4 separate regions of the Homo sapiens genome follow, and regions 1, 2 and 3 are each linked to region 4. Evidence: promoter capture Hi-C in 16 types of primary human blood cells and fetal thymus (Javierre and others, 2016). All regions are on one chromosome and are shown on one strand. The core of a region is centred on a gene start or on the middle of the fragment in contact, and the rest is flanking DNA. Distances in the headings are between cores, read along the strand shown. Region 1 has its middle 18 kb from the start of KMT5B. Region 2 overlaps KMT5B (lysine methyltransferase 5B). Region 3 overlaps KMT5B (lysine methyltransferase 5B). Region 4 holds the start of UNC93B1 (unc-93B1 regulator of TLR signaling).

Evidence for each region. The method cuts DNA at HindIII sites, captures the fragments that hold promoters and counts their contacts. A CHiCAGO score of 5 or more calls a contact.
Region 1: a fragment that was not itself captured here is called in contact with the fragment with the promoter of UNC93B1 in region 4 in 1 of 17 cell types (total B cells); the score reaches 5.0 in total B cells.
Region 2: a fragment that was not itself captured here is called in contact with the fragment with the promoter of UNC93B1 in region 4 in 1 of 17 cell types (total B cells); the score reaches 5.5 in total B cells.
Region 3: a fragment that was not itself captured here is called in contact with the fragment with the promoter of UNC93B1 in region 4 in 4 of 17 cell types (naive B cells, total B cells, neutrophils and 1 more); the score reaches 10.5 in naive B cells.

Annotation. Positions count from the first base shown.
Region 1 is chr11:68,228,041-68,234,838 of GRCh38, reverse strand. No RefSeq gene overlaps it. Among named protein-coding and RNA genes, the nearest start is that of KMT5B, 18 kb to the right of the region's middle. The HindIII fragment of the contact is 2,196 bases long and covers 708-2,903 here.
Region 2 is chr11:68,173,315-68,179,956 of GRCh38, reverse strand. It overlaps KMT5B (lysine methyltransferase 5B), which reads left to right. Exons shown (of 11, transcript NM_017635.5): 5 at 4,774-4,939; 6 at 6,044-6,153. Among named protein-coding and RNA genes, the nearest start is that of KMT5B, 37 kb to the left of the region's middle. The HindIII fragment of the contact is 9,089 bases long and covers 1-6,642 here.
Region 3 is chr11:68,196,355-68,203,427 of GRCh38, reverse strand. All of the region lies in intron 1 of KMT5B (lysine methyltransferase 5B), which reads left to right. Among named protein-coding and RNA genes, the nearest start is that of KMT5B, 13 kb to the left of the region's middle. The HindIII fragment of the contact is 9,199 bases long and covers 1-7,073 here.
Region 4 is chr11:68,001,962-68,009,087 of GRCh38, reverse strand. It overlaps UNC93B1 (unc-93B1 regulator of TLR signaling), which reads left to right and starts at 4,991. Exons shown (of 11, transcript NM_030930.4): 1 at 4,991-5,140; 2 at 5,290-5,431; 3 at 5,913-6,066. The coding sequence starts at 5,045. It also overlaps a transcript of ALDH3B1 not described here. RefSeq lists enhancers at 3,948-4,490, 4,491-5,034, 5,939-5,988, 6,089-6,138, 6,239-6,438 and silencers at 4,869-5,168, 5,229-5,638. The HindIII fragment of the contact is 17,319 bases long and covers 1-7,126 here.

The DNA.
Region 1 (6,798 bases), core at 556-3,055, 230 kb before region 4:
ACAGAGATAGGCTACAACAATCAATCAAATAAACAAAAAACAAAAATAGTAACAAAAACCAGTAAACCCTGGATAAGGGGGAGAATATGATTTCCAGTTACAATTATGAAATTCAATTGTCCAATGCTCAACAAAACATCAAAAGGCATACAAAGAAACAGAAAAATATAGCCTATTCGAAGGTTAAAGAAAACCACAAATAAACAGAAACTGTCCCTGAAAAAGAGCTTATGGCAGGTGTACTAGAAAAAGGCTTTAAAGCAACTGTCTTAAAGATGCTCAGAAAACTACAGGAGGGTATGGAGTAAGTCAAGAGAATGATGTGTGAACGAAATGGAAATATCAGTAAAAATAAAATCTAAAAGAAACCAAAAAAATTTCCAGAGCTGAAAAGTACAACTGAAATGAAAAATAAGTAGAGGGCAGATTCAAAGGCAGGTTTAAGCAGGCAGAAGAAAGAATCAGTGAACTTGAAGATAGGGTAATGGAAATGATCAAGTCTAAAGAACAGAAAGAAAGAAAAAAAAAAGACTGAAGAAAAATGAACAGAGCTTAAGGGACCTTGGGATACCATCAAGTAGACCAACATAGGCACTGTGGGAGTCACAGAAAGAGAAGAGAAAGAAGCAGGGAGAATATTTGAAAAATTAATGTCCATAAATATCCGAAATTTGATGAAAGAGATGAAAAGAAACATGCAAGAAGCTTAATGAACTTCATGTAAGATGAATTCAAAGAGATCCAACCAAATGCAGTGGCTCATGCCTATAATCCCAGTGCTCTGGGAGGACGAAGCAGGAGGTTGGCTTGAGCCCAGGAGTTTGAGACAAGCCTGGGCAATATGGCAAAACCCTGTCTCTAACAAACAAACATATAAACAAACAAACAAACAAACAAACAAACAAATTAACTGTGCATTGTGGTGCATACCTGTAGTCCTAGCTAGCTACTTGGGAGGCTGAGGTGGGAGGATCACTTGAGCCCAGGAGTTCAAGGCTACAGTGAGCTATGATCACACCACTGCACCCCAGCCTGGGTGATAAAGTGAGACTCTGTTTCCAAAGAGAGAGAGAGAGAGAGAGAATCAGTGGCTCATGCCTTTGGGAGGGTGAGGCAGAAGAAGAATCACTTGAGCTGAAGAGTTTGAGACCAGCTTGGGCAACATAGTGAGACCTTGTTTCTACAAAAAATAAAATAATTAGTCAGATGTAGATGGCACACACCTATAGTCCCAGCTACTTGGGAAGCTGAGGTGAGAGGATTGCTTGAGCCCAGGAGGTCAAAGCTACAGTGAGCTATGATTGTGCCACTGCACTCCAGCCTAGGTGACAGAGTAAGACCCTGTCTCAAAAATTAAATTCAATTGGCTGGGCACAGTGGCTCACACCTGTAATCCCAGCACTCTGGGACGCCGAGGCGGGTGGATCACCTGAGGTCAGGAGTTCGCGACCAGCTTGGACAACATGGCGAAACCCCATCTTTACTAAAAGTACAAAAATTAGCCAGGTGTGGTGGCACGCGCCCACAGTCCCAGCTACTCAGGAGACTGAGGTAGGAGAATCGCTTGAACCCAGTAGGTGGAGGTTGCAGTGAGCCAAGATCACGCCACTGCACTCCAGCCTGGGTGACACAAAAAGACTCTGTCTCAAAAATAAATAAATAAATAAATAAAATTAAATTAAATATTAAAATTAAGAGAGAGAAGGAGTCACACCAAGACACGTTACAATTAAACTTTTGAGGCCAGGTGCGGCGGCTCATGCCTGTAATCCCAGCATTTTGGGAGGCCAAGGCAGGTGGATCACCTGAGGTCAGGAGTTTGAGACTAGCCTGACCAACATGGAGAAACTCTGTCTCTACTAAAAATAAAAAATTAGCCGGGCATGGTGGAGCATGCCTGTAATTCCAGCTACTCAGGAGGCAGAGGCAGGAGAATTGCTTGAACCTGGGAGGTGGAGGTTGCAGTGAGTCGAGATTCCACCATTGCACTCCAGCCTGGGCAACAAGAGCAAAACTCCTTCTCAAAATAATAATAATAATAATAATTAATAATAATTAAACTTTTGAAAGACAAAGAGAGAATGCTGAAAGTAGCAAGAGAGAAGAGACATGTGACATACCAAGATCTTAAATAAGATTTTCAACAGATTTCTCATTAGAAATTTTTCAGGCCAGAAGACAGTGGGCTGACATTTTCTTTTTTGTTCTTTCTTTTTTTTTGAGACAGAGTCTCGCTCTGTCGCCCAGGCTGGAGTGCAATGGCTTGATCTCGGCTCACTGCAAGCTCCACCTCCCAGGTTCATGCCATTCTCCTGCCTCAGCCTTCTGAGTAGCTGGGAATACAGGCGCCCATTACCACGCCTGGCTAAATTTTTGTATCTTTAGTAGAGATGGGGTTTCACCATGTTAGCCAGGATGGTCTCAATCTCCTGACCTTGTGATCTGCCTGCCTCGGCCTCCCAAGACATTTTCAAACTATTAAAAGAAAAAAAAAAACAGCCGGGCATGGTGACTCACGCCTGTAATCCCAGCACTTTGGGAGGCTGAGGAGGGCAGATCACGAGGTCAAGAGATTGAGACCATCCCGGCCAACATGGCAAAATGCCATCTACTAAAAATACAAAAATTAGCAGGGCTTGGTGGTGTGCACCTGTAATCCCAGCTACCCAGGAGGCTGAGGCAGGAGAATCGCTTGAACCCAGGAGGCAGAGGTTGCAGTGAGCTGAGATCATGTCATTGCACTCCAGCCTGGAGACAGAGTGAGACTCGGTCTCAAAAAAATAAAAAATAAACAAACAAAAACAAAAACAAAAAACCTGTCAACCAAGAATCCTATATTGGATAAAACTGTCTTTCAAAAGTGAAGAATATGTGCTTGGCTGAAAAGCCAATGCAGCAAAGCTTCCATCCGTGAGATTATGACTGAATGCCTCTAAATCAAAACTCCGCCCAGGCAGAAGGCAGAATGATATGATAGCACTGCAGAGCCTTGGTTGGCCTCAGATAGCTGGTCCTTTACCGTGCTGCCAGTGCCTCATCTGGTGCCAGGACCGGAGTCCAGTACAGAGAACTCCTCAACCCGTGAAATGGGGTATGGCCAGAAATGGGCTGTCCCCGCTGGCCCATCATGGAGTGCACATTCACGGAGAACCTGGTACTAAACCATTCATAGACAACCTGCTTCTGGGTCAGGATTTTGTACATAGCAGAGTATCTCCCTCACTGTGATCTATTTAAAGTCAGCCCTCAAGATAAGGGTTTGTAAAAGAAAGGAATCAATAATATAAAATTTTTTGAGACAAGGTCTTGCTGTGTCGCCCAGGTTGTAGTGGAGCGGCATGATCACAGCTCACTACAGCCTCAGCCTCCTGGGCTCAAGTGATCCTCCCATCTCAGCCTCCTGAGGACTACAGCTGGGACTACAGACATGCACCAAGCCCAGCTAATTTTTTTTTTCTTTTTTGTAGAGTGGGGTTTCTCCATGTTGTCCAGGGTGGTCTCCAACTCCTGGGCTCAAGCAATCTGCCCACTTTGGCCTCTCAGAGTGTTAGGATTACAGGCATGAGCCACCATACCCAACCCATAAATAATATTTTTAAGAAGATAAAAGAAAAATATAAGAAAAGCCAAAGGGGCCAGGTACAATAGCTCATACCTATAATCCCAATACTTTGGAGGACAAGGCAGGAAGATCACTTGAGTCCAGGATTTTGAGACCAGCCTGGGCAACATAGTGAGACCCTATCTCTACAAAATCAAAGGTCAGGCGTTGTGATGCATGTTTGTAATCCTAGCTACTCAGGAGGCTGAGGGAGGAGGATTGCTTGAGCCCAGGAGGTTGAGGTTGCAGTGAACTGTGATCATGCTACTGTACTCCATCCTGGGTGACAGAGTGAGGCCCTGTCTCTGAACAAAAAGAAGAAAGAAAAAGAAAAAAAAAGCGAAGAAGAAAACTCAAGAAGTTCATAACCAGTAAACCTGCTCTGCAAGATATGCTTAAGGGAGTCCTGAAGGTGAAACGAAAGGACACTAGATAGTAACATGAAACTGTATGAAGAAGTAAAGATCTCAATAGAGGCAAATATATGTGCAATTATAAAAGCTAGTACTATTGTAACAGTAGGTTGTAAAACTACTTTTGGTTTTCTGCAGAATTTAAGAGACTATTACACTTTAAAAAACAATCAGTATCGGCCGGGTGCAGTGGCTCACATCTGTAATCTCAGCACTTTTGGAGGCCGAGGCAGGCAGATCATCTGAGGTCAGGAGTTCAAGACCAGCCTGGCCAACATGGTAAAATCCTGTCTCTACTAAAAATACAAAAATTAGCCAGGCATGGTGGTGGGTGCCTGTAATCCCAGCTACTTGGGAGGCTAAGGCAGGAAAATCGCTTGAACCTGGGAGGCGGAGGTTTCTGTGAGCCAAGATCGGGCCACTGCACTCCAGCCTGGGTGACAAGAGTGAGACAGACTCCATCTCAAAATAAATAAATAAGTAAATAAAATAAATTAAAAGTCAGTATAATAATAAATTAATTAATTGATTAGTTAAACCAAGAACTAATCCAACGCTAGTATTACTGTAACTGGTTTGTAACTACACATTTTGTTTGCTGTATAATTTAAGACACTAACTTTTTAAAAATCATTGTCAGTTTATGTTTTGGGGCATAGAATGTTTAAAGATATAATTTTATGACATCAACAACCATAAGAAAAAGAGATGGAGCTGTAAAAAGAGCAGAGTTTTTATACGATACTGAAGTTGACCTGGTATAAATTCAAACCAGAGTGTTATAACTTTAGGATGTTGATATGGTTTGGCTGTGTCCCCACCCAAATATCATCTTGAATTGTAGTTCCTACAATCCCCATTTGTCATGGGAGGGGCCTGGTGGAAAGTAATTGAATCATGGGGGTCATTACCTCAAAGTTGCTGTTCTCATGATAGTGAGTGAGTTCTCATGAGATCTGATGGTTTTATAAGGGGACTTTCCCCCTTTTGCTCAGCACTTCTCCTTACTGTTGGCATGTGAAGAAGGACATGTTTGCTTCCCCTTCCACCCATGACTGTAAGTTTCCTGAGGCCTCCCCAGCCATGGTGAAGTGTGAGTCAATTAAGCCTCTTTCCTTTATAAATTACCCAGTCTCGGGTATGTCTTTGTTAGCAGCATGAGAATGGACTAATACAGATGTTAAATGTAATACCCATTGTAATAACAAAGAAAATAGCTGTAGAATATACACAGAAGAAAATGAGAAGAAATTCAAACATTTTTCTATTAAAAAAAAAAACCAAACACACCAAAAAGCTTGTAATGCAGGAAATGAGGTCCAGAAAAGCTAGGAAGCAAACAGAGGACAAATAGCAAAATAACAGCAGTACATCTCTCCTTATGCACTGAGAAGACATCACCCCTGGATATTCTTGCCACAAACGCACAACTTGAATCTACTCACAAGGAAACATCAGATAACACACACAGAAGGACATTCTGCAAGTCAAGACCACAAAAAGCAAAGCAAGACTGAGGCACCAAAAGACAGGACAACTAAACACATCCTGTGATCTTGGACTGGCTGCTGGACTGGGGGAAAAGCATGTATCAAATTATAGTATTGTATTGCTGGTGAGTTTCCAGATTCTGACAACTACAAAAGTGATTATGTAAGAGAACAACCATTTTGGAAATATACACTGAAGTACTCAGGGGTGCAGAGGTGGGGTGTTTCTAACATAACCTCACGATTCAAATCATCTTCATTATTCTTGGATTCTGTATTTGTGGGTTCACCTCTAGCTAAATTTATTTGTAACCCCAAAATCAATACTTGGGCCTTTCTGTGGGTATTTGAAAGCCGGTGCATACACAGAGTGGTGAAAAATTGATGTCTCCAGAGACTAAAGTCACCCGCTGAGGTGAAGCAGTCAGCACTCATCTCCCTGTTTCAGCTCTCCGACCCGTAAACAAGTGTCCTTTTCACAGTCTATTTAGTGTCATGTTTTTCACAGTTTTGTGCTTCTTGTTGGTGATTTCACCATTCAAAATGGCCCCCGTGCAGTGCTGAGGCTGTCTAGTGTTCCCATGATCGAGAAGGCTATGCGTGCCTTTGGGAGAAAATGCCCGAGTTAGATAAGCTTCATTCAGGCAGAGTTTTAGCGCTCATTGACCCCCACGGCCACGTGGGGTCAATGTCAATGGATCAACAATATGTATTAAATAAGGTGTATTTAGGCCGGGCACAGGGGCTCACACCTGTAATCTCAGCACTTTGGGAGGCCGAGGCATGTGGATCACCTGAGGTCGGGAGTTCGAGACCAGCCTGGCCAACATAGCGAAACCCTGTCTCTACTAAAAATACAAAAATTAGCTGGTGTTGTGGCACACACCTGTAATCCCACCTACTCAGGAGGCTGAGGCAAGAGAATCACTTGAATCCAGGAGATGGGGGTTGCAGTGAGTCAAGATGGTGACACTGCACTCCAGCCTGGGCGACAGAGTGAGACTCTGTCTCAAATAATAATAATAATAAATAAATAAGGTGTCTTTTTTTTTTTTTTTTTGAGACGGAGTCTCGCTCTGTCGCCCAGGCTGGAGTGCAATGGCTCTATCTCGGCTCACTGCAAGCTCCGCCGCCTGGGTTCACGCCATTCTCCTGCCTCAGCCTCCCGAATAGCTGGGACTACAGGCACGCCCCACCACGCCCGGCCAATTTTTTTGTATTTTTAGTAGAGACAGGGTTTCACCGTGTTAGCCAGGATGGTCTCGATCTCCTGACCTCGTGATCCGCCCGCCTC
Region 2 (6,642 bases), core at 2,834-5,333, 170 kb before region 4:
TCATAACAGGGTGATTTTAAGAGAAACAAATCATTCTTCAAAAGATCAGGAGTCACTCCATGTGATTAGCTGAGCACTGATTGCAGGACTCAGCCAGGTATGTTTTTGGTTCTCGTTTATTTTCAGGTCAAGAAGGACTGAAGAGCTGATCTGCGACTCCTCACTCAGCGTCTACAAACTGTGGATTTGCAGCTAAACTTTCTTCAGAGGGGGAAATGTGTTCACTATGTTGCCTCATGGTTTTATTTTATATCTTAAATATTTGAGCATTTTTCTCTCTTCCTCTCTCCTTCCCTGTCTCCCTTTTTTCTGTTCCCCTTCCTGTTCCCCACCCCTCCAGTCAGCTCTTGATTGTGCATGCTAATGAAGGGCACAGTAGCACAGCTAATACAGTCTACAACTTTTCTTCACTGCCACAGTGGGGAGACAGAAAAACCAAATAGCAAGAAAACCTGGGAAGTGAGTCTCTGGAAAGAGTGGGGAACAGGTGTGTGGGAGTGTGAATTCATATGTTTTTTTCCTGCCCCTTTAATAATAATCAATTGTAAATGACATTTTTATTTTTCTTATACCAGCCATTGATTGGAAGTGTAAAAAGAGAAAAAATAGATATGTTTGGTTGATTTAAAGTAGCAAATTTTCTATTAAGGGAGGGAGGACGGGGCATATTGGTTTGGAAATGCCAAATAACTGTTTTTCTTGCCTCCCTTGTCACCCACCCCCCCACCCAAATACGAAATTTTAAAATTCACATTTGCGTCCATCCCTTCCACTGTATTGTCAGTATACAAGCTAGAGCTGTCTCTGGCTGGGCCCAGTGCTGATGTTCAATGGCAAACGCAAGTCAAATCCTCTTCTAACCATGAAACAATGTGAGGAAGGCTCTCCTGAGCCAGGTGATATAACAGGAACCAGAAAGGCCAGGGTAAATCCCAGGTCTTCCATTCATTAACCCTAAGTCATTGGCAATCTACTCAGCCTTGTTGGGCCTTATTTTCCTCATTTGTGGAACAAAAGGGCTGTTCTAAATTATCTGGCCTTTAAGTGTCAGAGTAAAAGGATAGTTTTATGCAGTTTGTATGGGAGATTTAGAGTGATTATAGTTAAGGAGAGAGGGTATTTTTCTGTTCAATAATAGGAAAAAAAAAAATTTCCCTAAGGTTTTCAGTGCATTTGCACCAGCCCTAATAGGTATAACAGTCTTAACTTTTATTTTCCACAGTATTTGTTACAATGGGATTTGATTTGGACTATCAGCCAGCTGACTTTTACATACTTCTGTAGGATTATTGAAAACAACTGTCTCATCTCCTGCCTGTCTGCACCCTTAACCATTTTCTTCCCCCTTTTCCTTACTGTCATTTCATGCCCATAGCAGCCAACTGTGACAGTAAGTTTTAACAGGTTTGGGACAGCAACTTATATTTTTAGTGAAATAGAGGTTCTTGCTATTGGTAGCAAGGGATAGTTTCAGGGGTTTTATTTATGTTTGAGGCAATAAAGTCAGGAAAGCAGAAACAGAAGTCAACACAGGGAAGGTAGGCAGAATACTACTAAATCAAGAGTTGACTATTTTGTGTTGGTTTTAGCATGTAAATTGTTTGGCATTATGAATAAAAAGTAAACAAAACCAAGGTTACCTGAAGGCATTTTTAGATAGGAATGAACTTGTTTCAGAAAGCATAGAACACACATAAAGCCTATTAAAAATAGCCAAGTTTCATTCCAGGTCTATAACTTACTTTTGTATAATGTTCCCATTGGTCACTTTCACATTGAACGTGTAAAGATAGCTTGGCCCTTTCTGTCGTTTGTAGCCCTGTCATTTAACGGCATGGATAATTTATTGCATTTGCTTAAAGTGAACTATTGCTTTTCTGATTGCCACACAAAGCACGGGTTATCTGTTTCCCACCATTTCATATTTCATATTTCATATTGCTCGACAGGTCATGCCTTAGCTGAGAGCTGCTTTGTTGTCTTATCTGTCCTTCATGTGCAAATAACCATGTAGTGTAGGATTGCAGCAAGAATGGTTTCCATTGGATTTCTTGGAGATGGTATCTTGACACAATCAATTGTGATGGCTACAAGTAGTTGAGTATGGATATTTGGATGCTTTCCCAATTCTACAGCTCTTTATTTTCATGGTGGTTCTCTGACACCATATGTCGACAGACTAGTAAGACGTTCTGAATTGTTTAAAGGACTTGCATTTATCTGTCTGTAAAGGCTTGTATACCAATTGATTGAAAATGGAAAATAGGGCCCTGTTCATTTCTTCAGTATTATCTCTAGGATATGTTTGAACTTTCAGATGGTTCAGCTAATAGTTGTGAGAATTCAGGATTACTGAATTAAAAAAAAAATGACTAGAGTGTGTAGCTAGTAAGTTCCTGGTAGTATCAGTATGCATTAATACACCTGAAGTCTTCCAGTGATCCTGTCCAGTAAACAGTATTATACCTGTTCAGGACCTCATGTCTTTCCTCTTCCTGATTCTGGTACTTTACTTTATTATTGCTACCTAGCTGACCCTGGTCAACTCTTTGAATCCAGCTTGATTAAGATCTTCTGCTTAGACTTCCCCTCATTCTTCCTTCCTTTTGATTCTTACCTGCTTATAATGTGCTTTTCTTAAACCTTTCCCATGTACATTTTGCACCCTAGTTATAATTTCTATACTTTTAGGTGCTATAGCAATGCAGTTTTTAGCATATTAACATGCATTTGCATATTGATCACTTGCTTAACTGTTTGATGCATATATATGTCTTTTAGTCCCAATTAAATTTTCCATTCAAGAACAGTGGCCATGTCTTCTCTTGTATTTTTCACCATAGCACTTCATATGCCACTGTATACACAACACAGCACCTAATAATCCTTGATGAAATACTGTGGCTTGAAATCTTACTGAAATACTATGAATACATATATGATAGCTTCTCTAGGAAAAAAAATTCTGCTGAATGCTTCCTTTGCTGGAGTTTGTGCTAGATCTTACCTCAATTTTAGCATATTCAGGTTTATGAAATGTACAATTTTAAATGTCAGAGTAAGACACATAAAGATTTTTTTCTCCTGAACCACTAATATTTTTTCTTAATGTATTTTATTTGAATGGCAATCGGTGATTCCTTTTTTCTGTTGGACGTTTTGTTTTGTTTTTTTGATACAGAGTCTTGCTCTGTCACCAGGCTGAAGTGCAGTGACGCGATCTTGGCTCACTCCAACTTCAACTCTCGAGTTCAAGCAATTCCCCTGCCTCAGCCTCCTGAGTACCTAGGACTACAGGCGTGTACCACTACGTGGGCCTGGCTAATTTTTTGCATTTTAGAGACGGGGTTTCACCAGGTTGGCCAGGATGGTCTCGATCTCCTGACCTCGTGATCCATCCGCCTCGACCTCCCAAAGTGCTGGGATTATAGGTGAGAGCCACCATACCGGGCCATAATCCGGTTAGAATTAGCTTTATGAAAATAAAATAAAACTTTTTTTTAAAATAAAAACTTTATTTGGGAGAATTAGCTTTATGAAATTGACATGAAAAGAAAATTTGAAATTAAGATGCTAGTAACTTTATAGTACACGTTTTACTGAAAACACAGCTTTAGAATGAGGGGTTCACAAATTTGTCTTGCTTGGGCCATGACTGCATCATGCATAAATACAGACCTAATGGGATAATATTCTGAAGACATCAGTGTGGCTGATTCTACAATGGAAGCCTTTTCAATTCTACCCCTGCAGGCCAGGCGCAGTGGCTCACACCTATAATCCCAGCACTTTGGGAGGCCAAGGTGGGCAGACCACTTGAGGTTAGGAGTTCAAGACCAGCCTGGCCAACATGGTCTCTACTAAAAATACAAAAATTAGCTGGGCATGGTGGCGCACGCCTGTCATCCCAGCTACATGGGAGGCTGAGGCAAGAGAATCACTTGAACCCGGGAGGCAGAGGTTGCAGTGAGCCAAGATCACACCACTGCACTCCAGCCTGGGCCACAGAGTGAGACTCCATCTCAAAAAAAAAAAAAAAAAACAACTCTACCCCATCAGTTTTCCTACATTACCAGTATAGCAATTTCACCACTAGAGTTAACACTGCTTGTACTCGTTTTGTTCTCTGAATGCAGTCATCAAAGATGACTTTGACATGGGTGGTTAGAACATCAAGGTGTGTTTCGAAGCCTGTTGGAATACTTAGTTTGGGGTTTTTTCTGACTGTGTACATAAAGAATGTTTTTGTGTATGGCATGGTTTTGTTTACATCATCATACTTCTGAAATTCATTGCCTGGCACTCTTCCAGCTTGATTTTGCATGTTTTAAAAAGATTCTTGTCATTCTAACTCTAAATTAGGTGTGCTGTATTCTAGAGCTTTGATTTTGTGTCTCCCAAAGTTGACGACTAGTGTAAGTCTGAATCAGACAGCTTTTGTTTGAATCGTCTGCTCACCTCACAGTTAATGAGATAACAGTGAAATAAAAATAATTAAAATAACAGATTGAAAAAAGAGAAGTTACTGAGATAACAGTGAAATAAAAATATTAAAATAACAGATTGAAAAAAGAGAACTTGCGTATCCAGGTGATCAGTATTACTTGAATAGTAGTAATCAAGACTATTGATTGTTGTTCTCTTCTCTTAGATCTTTGCTCTGATAACCATGGCTGTTTTTAGGGTATTAGCTCTTTCTCAAGATCTGTTAAGATGGATCAGTGGCGCAAGGATTGTGGCAGATAACCCATTCATTCTTTTGATTTCTTTCAGATTTAGGCCTATTAAAGGAAGGCAGGAAGAACTAAAGGAAGTAATTGAACGTTTTAAGAAAGATGAACACTTGGAGAAAGCCTTCAAATGTTTGACTTCAGGCGAATGGGCACGGCACTATTTTCTCAACAAGAATAAAATGCAGGAGAAATTATTCAAAGAACATGTAAGTTTATTAAGACTGATGCTGTTAACCTATTTGGATAAGAATAGTGAAGTAAATTAAAACCCTAAATGTTAGTTAATACTGAAATTTTAAATTTATTTTTCATAAAACTAATCAGTCTGAAGATCTTGTAACACATACAGTCATTTGGATGACAGTCCAGAGAAAAAACTGGGCCAGGCTCAGTGGCTCATGCTTGTAATCCCAGCACTTTGTGGGGGCTAAGATGGGAGTATTGCTTGAGGCCAGGACTTCGAGACCAGCCTGGGCAACATAGCAAGACTCCATCTCTAAAAAAATAAGAATAAAAAAATTAGCTAGGCATAGTAGTGTGTACCTTTGTAGTTTGTAGTTCCGGCTACTCAGGAAGCAGAGCCAGAAGCATTGCTTGTGCCCAAGAGTTAGAGGCTGCTCTGAGCTATGATCATGCCACTGCGCTCCAGCCCTGGGAGACAGAGCAAGACCCTGTCTCTAAAACCAAAAAAGGAGAGAAAACTTTGTCATATAGAGGTGAAATTCATTATGAGCCTTAAGGGAAACAAGCCATTAGGTACTCATACAGAGTGAGTACCCTTAACCCCAAAATTTGAAATGCTCCAAAATCTGAAACTTTTTGAACACCGACCTGACACTCAAAGGAAATGCTCATGGGAGGATTTTGAATTTTTTGTTTAGAGGTGTTCAGCTAGTTACTGTAATGCAAATATTGCAAAATGAGAAAAATTGTGACATTCAAAACTCTTGAGTAACAATAAAGTTTGTTACCTAATGATCTTACTTTTTTTGTTTATTTTATTGTTTTTTTAGAGGCAGAATCTTGCTCTGTCACCCAGGCTGGAGTGCAGTGGCCTGATTATGGCTCACTGCAGCTTCCATCTCTTGGGCTCAAGTGATTCTTCCTCTCAGCCTCCCACGTAGCTGGCACTAAAGGTACATGCCATCATGCTTGGCTAATGTTTTTCGTAGAGACAGGGTCTCGCTATGTTGCTCAGGCTAGATCTTACATTTTTTTCATCATTGCGGGTGGTTTGCTTTTATAATTGTAAGAAAGTCTAGCAGGGTATACCATTTAAAGTCATTATCAATTTTTTTTTCCTGTTTTAGGTATTTATTTATTTGCGAATGTTTGCAACTGACAGTGGATTTGAAATATTGCCATGTAATAGATACTCATCAGAACAAAATGGAGCCAAAATAGTTGCAACAAAAGAGTGGTAACTATTCTACTAGTATAAGCCTTTAATTTAATTTAAAGTTCTCTTCTAAATTATTGTTGAAGTGCTGAGAAATTCATGGTAAGGAATGAAGCCAGAGTTTACCCTGAAGTAGCCAATGCATCGCCGTTGCCTTGGCCCATCAGCTGGAGTCAGAGTGGGGAAATCGGAAGTCTCAGTTGAACCAGATCCCATCTCTAGGCCAAATTGCTTTTCATTTTCCTTTATTGACTCTGGATGCCTGTTCAGTGATATGATTGCTGAAGAGTTGTGGATACCGTGATTAGATAACCTGGCTTCCACAGTCAGTCTTCTACTGGCCTAGAAGAAAGGTTGGGGCTAAAGTTTTAATGATCCTAGTTTTATGGGTGGAAACCTCCCTAAAGCATTAGTTGCTTAAAAATACATACATACAGATATATATATATGTATATATGCCAGCTTCAATAAAAATAGTAGAGTTGGTGGGGGGCATTGGCTCACGCCTAT
Region 3 (7,073 bases), core at 2,783-5,282, 200 kb before region 4:
GATGTCAAGTCCTTTTGTGATTTCACATTTAGGAGAAAACTAAAAACCGATTCTGCTTATGTGTAGCAGTTGGTTTGAGAATAGAAAGGGAAGGTGATATGAATGGACCTATGTCTGGTCTTGTGCTGGATTCTAATGATATGAAAGTGTATGGGGCCGGGTGCGGTGCCTCACGCCTGTAATCCCAGCACTTTGGGAGGCCGAGGCAGGCAGATCACGAGGTCAGGAGTTCGAGACCAGCCTGACCAACATGGTGAAACCTCGTCTCTCCTAAAAATACAAAAATTAGCTGGGTGTGATGGCACACACCTGTAATCCCAGCTACTCAGGAGGCTGAGGCAGGAGAATCCCTGGAACCCAGGAGGCGGAGGTTGCAGTGAGCTGAGATCGTGCCACTGCACTACAGCCTGGGTGACAGAGCAAGACTCCATCTAAAAAGAAAAAGTTTAGCATAGAATTACCATATGACCCGGCAATTCTACTTCTGGGTATATCGTCAAAAGAATTAAAGCGGGTACTCAAACAGGTATTTTGTACACCCACGTTCACAGCAGGATTATTCGGCCAAAACATGGAAATAAAGCCAGGTGCAGTGGCTTACGCCTGTAATCCCAGTACTTTGGGAGGCCGAGGTGGGCAAATCACGAGGTCAAGAGTTCAAGACCAGCCCAACCAACATGGTGAAACCCCGTGTCTACTAAAAATACAAAAATTAGCCGGGCATAGTGGTGCGCGCCTGTAATCCCAGCTACTCAGGAGGCTGAGGCAGGAGAATCGCTTGAACCCGGGAGGCAGGGGTTGCAGTGAGCTGAGATTGAGCCACTGCACTCCAGCCTGGGCAACAGAGTGAGAGTTTGTCTCAAAAAAAAAAAAAAAAAAAAGTGTGTCTTAGCTAGTAGGGAAGGCAGGTGTTACCAGATAATTACACAGAGTAGTGAGTATGGTTGTAATAAGCACCATGCTGAGAAACGTTAAGGGTTAAAATGTATAACAAGGAAATCTATATAGCTGGAGAAGTGGGGTTGGGCAGGGACTGAGGAGCAGTGTGGCGGCACCCCAAGTGCAAAGGCCCTGTGGTGGGAAGCTGCCAAGCTGTTTCCCTTTCCTTTGTGTAAGTATCTTTAATATTTTGTTACAAAAGTCACAGATGTTTATTTTGAAAAGTTGAACATGTAGCAGGTAAATATTGCTTGTGATGTCATTCTCCATTGTAATCTCACTCACTGTTAACCAGTGGTGTACTGGATTGTTTTCTTACCAAATTATAACTAAATCACTTGAAAAATGTTTTCTTTGCCTTTCTAAATAAAGATTTATGAAAGTCCTCTAACAGGCTAGAACCTGCTTTTTATTATTTCTTTGAGACAGAGTCTTGCTCTATCACCTAGGCTAGAGTGCAGTGGTGCAATCTCCTGGACTCAAGCCATCCTCCCACCTCAGCCTCCTGAGTACCTGGGACTACAAGCACGCACCACCACACCCGACTAATTTTTTTTTTTTTTTTTTTTTGGTAGAGACTGGGGTCTGACCATGTTGCCCAGGCTGGTCTTGAACTCCTGGGCTCAAGGAATCCACCTGCTTCGGCCTCCCTAAGTGTTGGGATTACAGGCGTGAGCCACCACACCCAGCCAGAACCTACTTTTTAAAAATGTGTATTGACTTTTCTTTTTCAACCACTTGGGGATTGTTTCCCTGCCACTGGATAATTTCTCTAAGATAAACTGTTTGCAGACAAGTTCAGCATGTCAACTGGCTAGAGGGTTCTCGGTAATGTCACAGGAATTACGTTAACATTCTTTCTAGTCATTCAGAATCAGTGTTTTAACTTTTTTGACAGATTTTTTTTTTAATCTTAGTTTGTTTTTAGGATATTAAGCAAAAAATGCCTGTGTTTAAGTAAAAATGGATTGGAATCAGAGTTCTCAAATTGGACACAATTTCTCAAAAGTCACTCAACAATTTATAATCTCATAAAGAGCCTGGAAAGAGAAGGGCATTGACATTTGTTGAGGGGCCATCACTGGCATAGAACAGGCATGGTTATGTGAACGTAGCCCATTTTCTATGAATCAATGCTGCTTTCTTTTGAAATGTGTTAAAGTATTAAGGTTTTCAGTTTTTTTCTGATTATAAGTAAATAGGTTCACTGTAAACGTTTGGGGAAAAAATACTTTTGAAAGTTATCCTTCCCCCCAGCAACGGTAGCACTGGTGATTTGGAATGCATTGTGGTGGTGCTGGTGGTGGTGGGTGTCGCGCTTCTCACCTTAGTGGCATCGTGTTATGATTAGGAGTTTCCGCTTTAAATACAACTGGAAATCATTCTTGAAATCTTTTCCCCTTTAAATACATTTCTTATTTTAGCAGTTTTCCAGTATGTTTTATCTTGATCATAAATTGTCCCCTCACCCCCCACCTCCTTATTTATGTTTGGTACCAGAATCTGTAGTAAGTGCTTCTTTTCCCATGTGTTGATCCAGTGAAACCACATAAGGTGACTCTTCCTGTTGATTTCAGTGCTGGGTAAATCCCTTGGGGAAGTGATGCTGCCCATCTTGGAGCAGAATCCCAATTCCATTTTCTCAGAGCCTGATTGCATCATTTCTGTGAATACTCACGAAAGTAGAAGGCACAAAGCCTTGCACAGTAGTCCTCAGGAATTCCACTTCGTTTTCCTACTCAGATCATCTGTATTACTCCCATCCAGAGATTTAACCAATCTATTAGTTTAAAAAAATTTTTTTAACACAGATCCTATAAGCGCTCTGAAGGCTTGCCTTCTCAAATTAACTAACCTATTCCCATCACCTCCCACTCCATAATTTTAACTTACATTTGTCTTTTCTGGCCTGCGAGTCAGTCTCTCTCTCTCTCGTTCCTGATATTGCCCTCTGCCATCTGTTTCTTAAAGCAAAGCCCCGTCTTCCTCACAAGTGCGTGTTTTAAGACATTGTGTCCATTTAGAAGTTCTCTGTTGTTTCTGAGCAAGGCTCACAGATCAGCAATAGCCCATCCTTTCCACGAGTTTAGACTCATAAAATAAAAGTATTTGCTTACTGGGCACCTATAGTCCTTGCCTGAGTTGGTAACTCCCTCCACAGAGTGGTCCCTGTCATGCCTGGCTCTGCTTCTCACTTGTTGCTCCTTTTGTGATCCTGTGCTGCTTCTCCTCCTCTTGACCTATACATGTTAAAGTGCCCCCGACACCCAGTCCTTGGACTTCATTGATCTGCACTGAGTCCTAGATTTCATCTGATTCCATGGCTTGAAATGCCATTAATACTTTGATTTTATTTGAAGATAAAAATACCAGATTTTTATCTTCAGCTTGGAGCTGGACTCCAGACCCTGGTATCCAGCTGCCAACTCCAGTTGGATCTGTAGTGGGCATCTCAAAAGTGACTAAAACCAAAAAAGACCCCCAAAAAGGAAGAAAAAATGACCAAAACCAAATTCCCACACCGCAGTCCTTGCGGAAGCCAATCTTCCTATAGTCTTTGTCACATCCCTAAATATTAATTCCATTCTTCATTTGCAGGTATTTTTGAGTCCTCTTTCTCCTACACCTGCATTCAATCTGTCAGCAGTTCCCGACTATCAGCGGAACCTTCAGAAAAGATCTCGAAGCCAACCACTTCTTGCCACCTCTGCTGCTGCAGCCACTAGTTCTCCTCTGGCTAGCAGTAGTCAGTTAGTAAATAGACTACTACTACTAATAACGTCTCCCTGCATTCTCTTGTCCTAGAAATTATTAGTAGCTTCATTAGAACTGCTTTTTTAAAGTACCATGTAGCAAGCTGCCAGCATGGTCCTTTAAAACTGTGGGTTGGATCGTGTCACTCCTCTGCTTTCCCTCTCACTGGGAGTAAAGGCCCAAGTCTCAGCAGTGGCTTTGAAGCCCTTCTTCCCTGTGGCAGCCTCTCTGACCTCATCCTCCCACTCTTCCTCCATATTTGCCCCAGCCACGCCAGCCTCTGGGCCTTGTGTTTGCCCTTCCCTTTGTCTACTGCATGCTTCTTGCCTGATGCCTGGCTGTCCCTTCACATCCCTTGCTGTCTTAGAAAACAGCCACTATCACCCTCCTTCTCCACCTGAAACACTCCCTGCCACCATAAATGGCTTATTCCCCCCAAAAGGTGCCGACATTCATTCGTTAATTTATTATTTCCTAGTGCTTTTTTCCATTAGAATATAAGCACAGATGAGGGCAGAAGCCTTATTTTGTTCCATGCTGTATTCTCAGTGCCTGCAACAGTGTCTGGAATATAGTGGATGTCTAATTTTCCTGACATTTTTATATTGGGAAATCAGAACAGGATTTGTAACTAAAAAAAAAACAACGCAATTACTTTATTACTTTTGCACCAAGCTAATACACCATTTAAGAAGTGGTCAGTAATGGCCGGGCGTGGTGGCTCACGCCTGTAATCCCAGCACTATGGGAGGCCAAGGCGGGCAGATCACAAGGTCAGGAGATTGAGACCAGCCTGGCTAACACGGTGAAACCCCATCTTTACTAGAAATACAAAAAATCAGCCGGGTGTGATGGCGTGCATCTGCAGTTCCAGCTACTCAGGAGGTTGAGGCAGGAGAATGGCTTGAACCCGGGAAGCGGAGGTTGCAGTGAGCCAAGATCGTGCCACTGCACTCCAGCCTGGGCAACAGAGCGAGACTCCGTCTCAAAAAAAAAAGAAGCAGTCAGTACTTTCTTGAAATGTTTTTCCTAACAATTTGGGACAAAATTGAGGCAATTTTTACTTCTAAATGTAGTCAGTGGCTAATTAGCTCAGAGTGTGTCAGCCAAACCGTGACCATGGGGACATTTCCACGTGAGCCAGCTATGTCCCATGGGAGTCTGCACCCTTGTGTGTTTGTTGGGAGGGGGCACCTCTGTGGTAGCTATGAAGCATTTAGGCTTTGCTAGCCGCCCTGTCTTGTCTTGTCTTGTCTTGTCTTGTCTTGTCTTGTCTTGTCTTGTCTTGTCTTGTCTTTTTTCCTTTCCTTTCCTTCATCTTCTTTCCTCTTCTTTTCTCTTCTTTTCTTTTCACAGTCTTGCTGTGTCGCCCAGGCTGGATGGAGTGCAGTGGCACAATCTTGGCTCAGTGCAACCTCTGCCTCCTGGGTTGAAGCTATTCTCCTGCCTCAGCCTCCCAAGTAGCTGGGATTACAGGCATGTGACACCACGCCTGGCTAATTTTTGTATTTTTAGCAGGGATGGGGTTTCACCTTGTTGTCCAGGCTGGTCTCGAACTCCTGACCTCAGGTGATCTGCCCGCCTTGGCCTCCCAAAGTGCTGGGATGTTTTCAACCCCTATTTGTCTATACTCTACTACAGTATCGACTTGTGTTAGCTTTTTAAAATCCCATCGCTACCTTTAATGTGTAAACGTGTGGTCTTAGAGGAAAGATCATGCCAGCAAGAACAGATTCCACACTTAGGAGGGCAGAACAAATGATGACCTGATCATTAGTACAATATATATTCATTTTGAGCTGAAAATTTTTTTAAATAGCCCCCAAATTATTGATAGCTTCATTAGAATTGTTTTTACAAATGTTTCATTTATCAGTTTAAGAAAGATCTTTTGATAGCTTTTATCATATGGACCTGTGGAGAATCTCTCTCTGCTAGGCTACATCCAGACATGTGCAGTGCATTCATACTAGTGAAATTTAGCCATGTTCTGTGATTGACAGAAGTACCTGTTAGATTAAATTACCTTGAGTTCAAATAATATCAGTTGATCACAATATAAATGAGATCTGAGGGCACAGATTTTTTCCAGTTTGGATCATTAACCCACATTTAATTTAAATTATGTGCACATTAGAGTGGATCTCAGTCTGTGTTCCATGAATTGAACCAAAGTTTGCTATTACTAAAGTGATTTGTTGGTGAATTTTCCTAATTCTCAGAAAAATGTTTGGTTGATATTATAATTTCCTTAATTTTTTATTCCATAATTTTTCTTAAAATTTTGTATCTATTCTTTGCCCTAACATGATAAAATGAATAAGTAAATTAGAGCGATTGCTCTTACACTGGAGCTTGCATCACCTGGAGGTCTTACTACAACACAGATTGCTGGGCCTCATCCCCAAATTTTCTGCTTTCTCTCAAGTAGACATCTTGGTTGGGACTTAAAGACTTTCCATGGCCGGGCGTGGTGGCTCACGCCTGTAATTCCAGCACTTTGGGAGGCCGAGACAGGCAGATCATGAGGTCAGGAGATCGAGACTATCCTGGCCAACATGGTGAAACCCCGTGTCTACTAAAATAGCAAAAAAAAATTAGCCAGGTGTGGTGGTGCGCACCTGTAGTCCTAGCTACTCGGGAGGCTGAGTCAGGAGAATCGCTTGAACCCAGGAAGCAGAGGTTGTAGTGAGCCGAGTTTGGGCCACTGCACTCTAACTTGGGGACAGTGCGAGACTCCGTCTCAAAAAAAGAAAAAAAAAAAGACTCTCCATGGATAACCTTTCTATTCCATATATTTTATTTCTATTTCATATAATTATGCTTTATGTCTTATTTTTGAGGTATATTAGGACTCCTGAGAAGCCTAAAAGTACATTGTTCCATGATTATCCATAAGTTGTGTGTTAAACACAGGCATTCTACAGATGATTTCCTAAAGGACCAAAAGCACTTTTCCTGGTCCTGGTTCTTTTTCTCTGGAGGGTCAAGGACTAGGGAGTAAACCAGAAAGTATAATGGCAAGCAGTAGGGAAGTTAGTGGTGGTAGCAGCTGTGATTCCTGCCTTGTTTCTGTCTGTGCAGGAGCTTCTCTCACCCCCTTACACACCATGGACATTTTGAGAAAGGAGAGGATTTGAAGAGGTCAGGAAGTATCTTTAATTTACAGTTTTTTTTAATGCAGAAATATAGTTTCTATGATGCAGTTTAGAATACAACCTATTTATTTCATCAGTTGAGTGCCTCTAGGATGTACTGTGTGCTATACTAGATACACAAGGGCCAGAGATAAGAAAAATAGATTCTCAACCTTAGGAACTCTCAATTAAGGAAGCAGACACTTAAACAATATAGTCACATAAGGGCTTTCACTTAAGTTT
Region 4 (7,126 bases), core at 3,742-6,241:
CCTCCCAGGAGGAGTGCCTGCCTCTCTGCTTAGGACCGTGGTCATGATGCCACGTGTCGCCTTGGTGGTTCCTGTAGTCCCGATCTTCCTCAAGTTCGGCACAGGCAGCTGTGCCTAAGCCTGTCCCTGCCTGCCCCCAGCCCGCCCCGGATACACCTGTCAGAGCCAGCGTGCTGTGGGGATGATGTGCAAGCTGCTGTGGGTGTGGACAGGCAGGGGACAGGGTGACAGGTGTGGAGGAAGAGCCTCCTCTATGCCCCTTCCTGGGCCTGCCGCTGCTACCATCTCCCTGGTGCCCTGGGCCTCCGTAGCTCCCGGCCCCGGGGCCTCTGGGCCAACGTGGCACCTGGGAGGTGCTCATCATGGCCCCCCCCACCCGCCAGCTCCCTGCCTACCTGGGAGGGCGGTGAGGTCTTCTGGACCATGCCCACACCGGTGGCCCGTGATTAGATAGTTAGGGTGGGGGTGAAGGACTGCAGAGCCCCTGTCCTCTGTGTGGGATGGAGCCCCCAGCCACTGCCAGTCACGTGGCTCAGCATGTGACAGCCCAGCCCTGCCATTCTCTGGAGCTCAGCCAGATTGAGCGGGTGCCAGGCAGGGCTGGGCAGGGGCTGAGCCTGTAGGTCTCAGCTGGGAGTGAGGCCCAGAGAGGGCAGCCACTGGTCTAAGGCCACACAGCAAATCAGGGACCCATCTTGGCGGGTACTGGCAGGTGGGAGGGGTGTTTCAGGATCCCGAGGGTCCCCTCCCTGGCCAGGGAGCTGTTGAAGAATTTCCCCCAACTCACAGGGGCCGAACTTGTCATGAATGCAGGAGCAACCTGGGAGGAGGCCCCCGAAGAGGCCTGTCCTCCCGGGACAGAACTCCTAGCCTTCCCTGGGAGTGAGGCTCCCCCCAAGGGAGGCCACACACCTCCCAGGAGGGCTGGGCCCTCCCCACTCTGGGTTGGGTGCCCCTCACTACTCCTCAAAGCTCCAGAGGCTCAGTAGGGCCTGGGAGTCCCATCTTTGTTGAGGAGCCCAGGGTAAATGGGGAGCCCTCTGGGTAGGGCACCAGGAGGACTCACTTTTGGAGCCAGCTCTGGGGTGAGGTCTGCCAAGGCCCAGGCCAGCCAGGGGGAGTGGGTGGAGGGGTTGCTCAGGGCTCCGGGCCAGACAGCTGCGGCCCCGCCTGCCCTGCCTCCTCCTTGCTGGGCTGACGCTTCGCCTCTTTGGGCCTCAGTGTTCCCATGTGAGAATGGGGCTGACTACAGTCCCGGGGGCATCTGTGGGTGAATGAGAGGGTTCGGCAGGCATGGATCTCAGCACCTGGCATGGAGGGCGTTAAGTGTGAGGTCTGGGCTCAAATCCTGGTCCTGTCACTTACCTGTGTGACCTAGGTTAGTGTCTTAACCCCCCGTGCCTCTGCCTTCCCATCTGTAAAATGGGACATAAGTGATTGTGAGGCTGAAACAAGTTATTCCATGCACGTGGGCCCGGAACTGTGACCATTCCAAGTGCCCGGCCCCCTCTGGAAGGGTCTGAGAGCTACCTTCCAGACTCTAGGACAGGAGTGTGGGCAGGGCATGAGCATGGCATCAGGTGGAATCATTCATCCATTCATAATTCATTCATTCATTCCCTCACTTCTCAGAAACACGCCCCTGAGCCTGGCTCACAGGGCCTCAGACCTGCCCAAGAGCATCTCACTGCCTCATCTGCCCACGAGTGACCTTGAAAAGAAACGTCCCCTCACTGGGCCTCAGTTTCCCCAGCTGTAAAATGGGGGCTGACTCTGCCTGCCTCACATGGCTACTGCGAGGGTGAAACGAGAGCCGACCTGAAGGCACCGACAGGGCACCTGGTTCTCAGTAGGCGCTCAGAGCATGTGAATGTCCTCCTGCCCCTCTCCTTGCCCTCCTGAGGAAGTGGCTGCCCCAGGCCTTGGCCCTGAGGCCCTGGCCCTGCCTCCCACCCCCTCCCTGGCAGTCTTGAAGGCTGGACCCACCCTGGCTCCTTGAAGAGGCAAAGTTAGAGGCTGTAGGGGCCCAGGGCCCAGGACACAGTCAGAACTCACGGGCAACGGTGAATGCGGGTCACTTGTTCATTTACGCACTCAACAAACCTTTACTGAGCACCTACTGTGTGCAGACACTTCACACAATTTTCACAATTCCCAGACATTATTGACCATGCTTTCCAGCTGGGCCACACAGTGACAAGGACTCATGGGGATCCACAACCAGCCTGGCCTGGCTCCCCGGCCCACGGTGCTTCCAAGGTGCCTGGAGCCCTCGCACAGGAATGGGCTGGAGTCTTCAGCTCTGGGTGAGCCCTTTGCCACCAACTCTCAGGAGCCTCAAGTCTCAGTGGAAAGCAGCAGCCACCTGGGCATTTGCTGTGCCAGGCACTGGGCAGAGCCTTTGGCACACCCCAACCTGGGGACCTCCCACCATCCTGTGAGCCAGACTCAGTGATCATCATCCCCATTGGCTTTAATGTTTAAAATATTGTGGAATCACATCCATGCCAGGGAAGTGGTGTGAAGGGAATCACGTGGGCTGCCCAGCACGCTCCTGTGTCAGTGCAATGCGGGGCAACAATATTCCAAGAGGTTGTTTCAGGGAGTTCCAGTTGAGAGCAATATTTATTCTCTTCTGCTTGCTTTTCTGCAAGGAACATCGATTATTTTCATAATGAGAACTGAAAGTAAAGGCTTATTATAGAGAAAAGCATTGGCAAACAGTGAGCACGGGGGGATCTGGCCACCCCTTCCTGGGGATGTGACTGTGCACTGTTGCAACCTGGATGGGTTGGTGGAGGTGCTGGCCCTGCTCAGATCTCTGTCCCGCAGGTCACCCTGGTGTGTTTATCTGGGCCACCCTATCAGCCTCTTAGATAGTCTCCAGGCTCCCCAAGAGCAGCTCCATAAACCACCTAAAAAAAAAAATCCTTTCTGGAGAGAGGAGGTGTATCAGTCAGGGTTTAGTGCCTCCAGGGCTGTTTTTTGTTTTTTTTGTTTTTTGTTTGTTTGTTTGTTTGAGAGGTCTCACTCTGTCACCCACGCTGGAATGCAGTGGCACAATCTCAGCTCACTGCAGCCTCATCCTCCTGGGCTCAAGCAATTCTCCCACCTCAGCCTCCTGAGTAGCTGGGGCTACAGGTGTCCACCATCACACCAGGCTAGTTTTTGTATTTTTTGTAGAGATGGGTTGGGGGGGGGGGTTTGTCTCACTTTGTTGAGGCTGGTCTTGAACTCCTGAGCTCAAGTGATCCTCCTTGGCCAGCCAAAGTGCTGGGATTGCAGGCGTGAGCCACAGCGCCCGACCCTCTCCAGGTGTTTTGAGTAGGAGACATTGAGTGCAGGGAATTGGTGGTACAGCACAGGTGATGGAAGAGCCCAGGATGGGCAACCATAGCAACCGCCACAACCCCCAGGCCCAGAGGAACAAGGGGAGGAAGAGATTGCACCAGGCCCCAGAAGTTTGGGGTCCCTCAGGGAAATTGAGAAGCTCGGGGGGCCCACTCCCAGCACTTTGGGGGCTAAGGCGGGTACATCACTTGAGGTCAGGAGTTCGAGACCAGCCTGGGCCAATATGGTGAAACCCCATCTCTACTAAAAATACAAAAATCAGCTGGGTGTAGGGGCACACGCCTGTAATTCCAGCTACTCACAAGGCTGAGTCAGGAGAATTGCACTTTCTCATCATACTGTGTAATGATGCTGGTGTCTGCCATCTGAGAACGGCCCCCGCCATAGCCATACTCTCCCACCTCCTCCCTGCCCCTGCGCCTCGGGCCCTGCCCTCTCTTCGGCTCCTTTCCTGTCTCCCACTTCCAGCCACCCACCTGCATGAATCCACCTGTCTGTTCCCCACATCTGCACTTGGGCATCGTCACCTGGAGAAAGTTCTACCTCCTGGAAGCCTGAAGCCACTGCAGATTCACGCCTCCCCCCACCTTCCCAGCAATCCTTGCGGGGTGGGAGGTGTTTGTCATCCAGTCACTCATGCACCCATCCAGTCACAAGTATTGATCACTCAGTAGGTGCCCAATGCCATCCTCTGCATTTGGGAGAGGATGTACCTAAAGAGCAGTGGGTGGAGGGGGGTGCACAGGGAGGGCATGGAAAACCAGAAGGGAAGTGAAGGGACTGCATTCTCTGCAGGGATGGTCTCTTGTTCTGAGAGCTGAGTGGGAAGGAAGCCACCTGGGAGGCGCAGCAGGAAGAGCATTCAAACCAGAAGGAACCCAGGGGAGAGAATCTGGATATTTTCAAAAGTGGCCCCGTGGCTCCAGCCAGGTCGGTGGTAGCCAGTGCTTTGGAGTGTCGGCCCCACCACAGGCTCCCGCTGCAGCCCGGGATCCAGTGCCCAGCAGGATGGGGGCAGGTGGCTCTGGGCCCCACTACATGGTTGTGGCAGGGTCCCCCATGTAGTTCAGTGGGGATCACAATCTCCACCTCCCAGGACCCACTCAAGCTCCCATTTGCACAGCCCAAACTGGAGCAGGATGGGGACATGGGAGGTGGGCTCTGGCTGTAGCGTCCGGTGGTGGGAGGTGGGGTCCAGGTGGTGACGCTACTGTCCCTGCAGTGCTCTTTGATGAGCTGTAACAGCAGGCTTGGAGGTGGGGCTGGGGACGACCCAGGCAACCCTGAGGGGAGCTTAAGGGAGCCAGGCAACCCTGGCACTTTTCCAAGGCTTTGCATTAACTCAATAGTTCCGCCATGGCCCCGGGGGTAGTGCCATGTATTTCTGTTTTACCGTCGAGGAAACGGAGGAAACCGAGGCACAAAGAAATGGAGTTAATTCCTAAAGTCACAGGGCCAGGAGGTGGCTGAGTGGGGATTCGAACTCACACCCCAGAGGGCACACACAGGCAGGCCCCTGCACACACGCGCGCGCGCGCGCGCACACACACATACACACACACGTGTCCTGGAGGAGGCGGCCCGCAGGGCGGGACAGGGCGGGGCGGGGGCAGGTCCCGGCCGCCGGGAGGAAGTGGCCGGGCGGTCGCAGGGACTCCGGGGCGACCGCCGCGAGTCCGCAGTAGTTCGGGCCATGGAGGCGGAGCCGCCGCTCTACCCGATGGCGGGGGCTGCGGGGCCGCAGGGCGACGAGGACCTGCTCGGGGTCCCGGACGGGCCCGAGGCCCCGGTGAGCGGGGACCCGGAGTGCGAGGCGCGGGCGTCCCCTGTGGGCCAGGGTCCCCCCGGCGGGGGCGGGGCGGGCCGGGGGGCGGCGGGCACCGGGGGACACGGGTTCGGGGCGCGATCGCGGGTGCGAGCGGCGTGCGTGGCTCGCAGCTGGACGAGCTGGTGGGCGCGTACCCCAACTACAACGAGGAGGAGGAGGAGCGCCGCTACTACCGCCGCAAGCGCCTGGGCGTGCTCAAGAACGTGCTGGCTGCCAGCGCCGGGGGCATGCTCACCTACGGCGTCTACCTGGGTAGGTGCCGCTCGGGGACCCGGGGCCGCCCCGCCCGCTCCCAGCCCGGCCCGGGAAACAGAAACCGCGGGCCGCCGCCTCCCGCCCGCTCTCACTTCCCCTCCGCTGCCCTCGCAGCTGCAGCCACGGCCCCCCGCGGCGGGGGTGGGGTTGGGGGGTCAAGTAGCGCAGCGTCCCCGGGTCCCAGCCAGAGCCTCGGTGTGGGTGGGGGACGGGGGTCCGGGCTCCCGGACAGACCTGCCACCGTCAGAATTGGAGGCCGGCGGAGCAAGGCGGGTGGGGGTCTGGGCTTAGCTGGCCAAGTGGCCGCGGGCTGGCAGAAGGCGTGGCGCAGCCCGGGAACCCCGCTGTCCTGAGGGGCGCTGTCAGCGGGAATGCCTTCGGTGATTGGAGCTCCCTGCGAGGCCTGCATGCCGTCTTCTGCTCGGTGGCGCCCAAAGCTAGGCTGCTCCCTGCACGCCGCTCTCTGTCCTGTCCCCAGGCCTCCTGCAGATGCAGCTGATCCTGCACTACGACGAGACCTACCGCGAGGTGAAGTATGGCAACATGGGGCTGCCCGACATCGACAGCAAAATGCTGATGGGCATCAACGTGACTCCCATCGCCGCCCTGCTCTACACACCTGTGCTCATCAGGTGGGCGCGGCTGCTCCTGTGGGATGCTGCGGTACTCCCATTTCGGAGGGGTACAGAGGCCGGCGGGCCAGGAGGTGTCCATCTGCCGGGGTGTTTGTGGGGCGAGGGAACAAGGGAGAGGTTTTTTTCTACCCGGAAGCCTGAGAGTGAAGGGGGTGAAACTCGGATTTGGGGAAGGAAACAGGAACTTTGCCTCAGGGCACATTTGGTTTCCAGCAACAGATTCACACGGGCTGAGCTCCCTCCCAGCTTGCCTGGGCCTCACGTGGCACCCTCCTCGTGGCCTCCTTGGAGGCCTCCCAGAGCCACTGTGGCCTTCAGGGTTGGGGCTGTAGAGTTAGGGGTTTCTGATCGGTCAGCAAAGTCCAGGCACCCATGCCTGGCCCAGTCGCTGTGACTGGTGCTGAGGGGGTGTTTCTCACAGACAGGCATGGCTGGGCAGGTGCCCCAGAGCTCTCCCCCAGATCTGAGCCCTGGAGGTATGTGGTTCAGCCTCCCCATCACCGGTCCACAGTGCCCTCCCTGATGGGACCTGGAGACCAGTGGACAAATTAGGTGAATTTGAGCTCCCTCATCTTTAAAACAAACAAACAAACAAAACAACAAGAGAAAACTCCATTTAAACAAAAATTTGAAAATTTAAAACATCTCCCGTTGCACAGGCAGGATTAGAATAACTGAAATCATAAAAAAGAAACCCCATCTAAGCCCTCCAGGAAATCGGCTACCCATGCTGTCCCACCAGCATGCATGGATTACATTCACATCCTTGTCCCCAGAGCACGTGTGTGGACGTGCCCGTGTGTGTGTGTGTGTGTGTGTGTGTGTGTGTGTGTATGCAAGCGGGCTATGTTTGCTTTTGCTTGCTTACTTTTTTTTTTTTGAGACAGATACTTGCTCTGTCACCTAGACTGCAGTGCAGTGGTGTGATCTCGGCTCACTGCAACCTCTGCCTCCCAGGCTCAAGCGATTCTCCTACTTCAGCACCCTGAGTAGCTGGGATTACAGGCGCCTGCCACCCGGTTAATTTTTGTACTTTTAGTAGAGATGGGGTTTCACT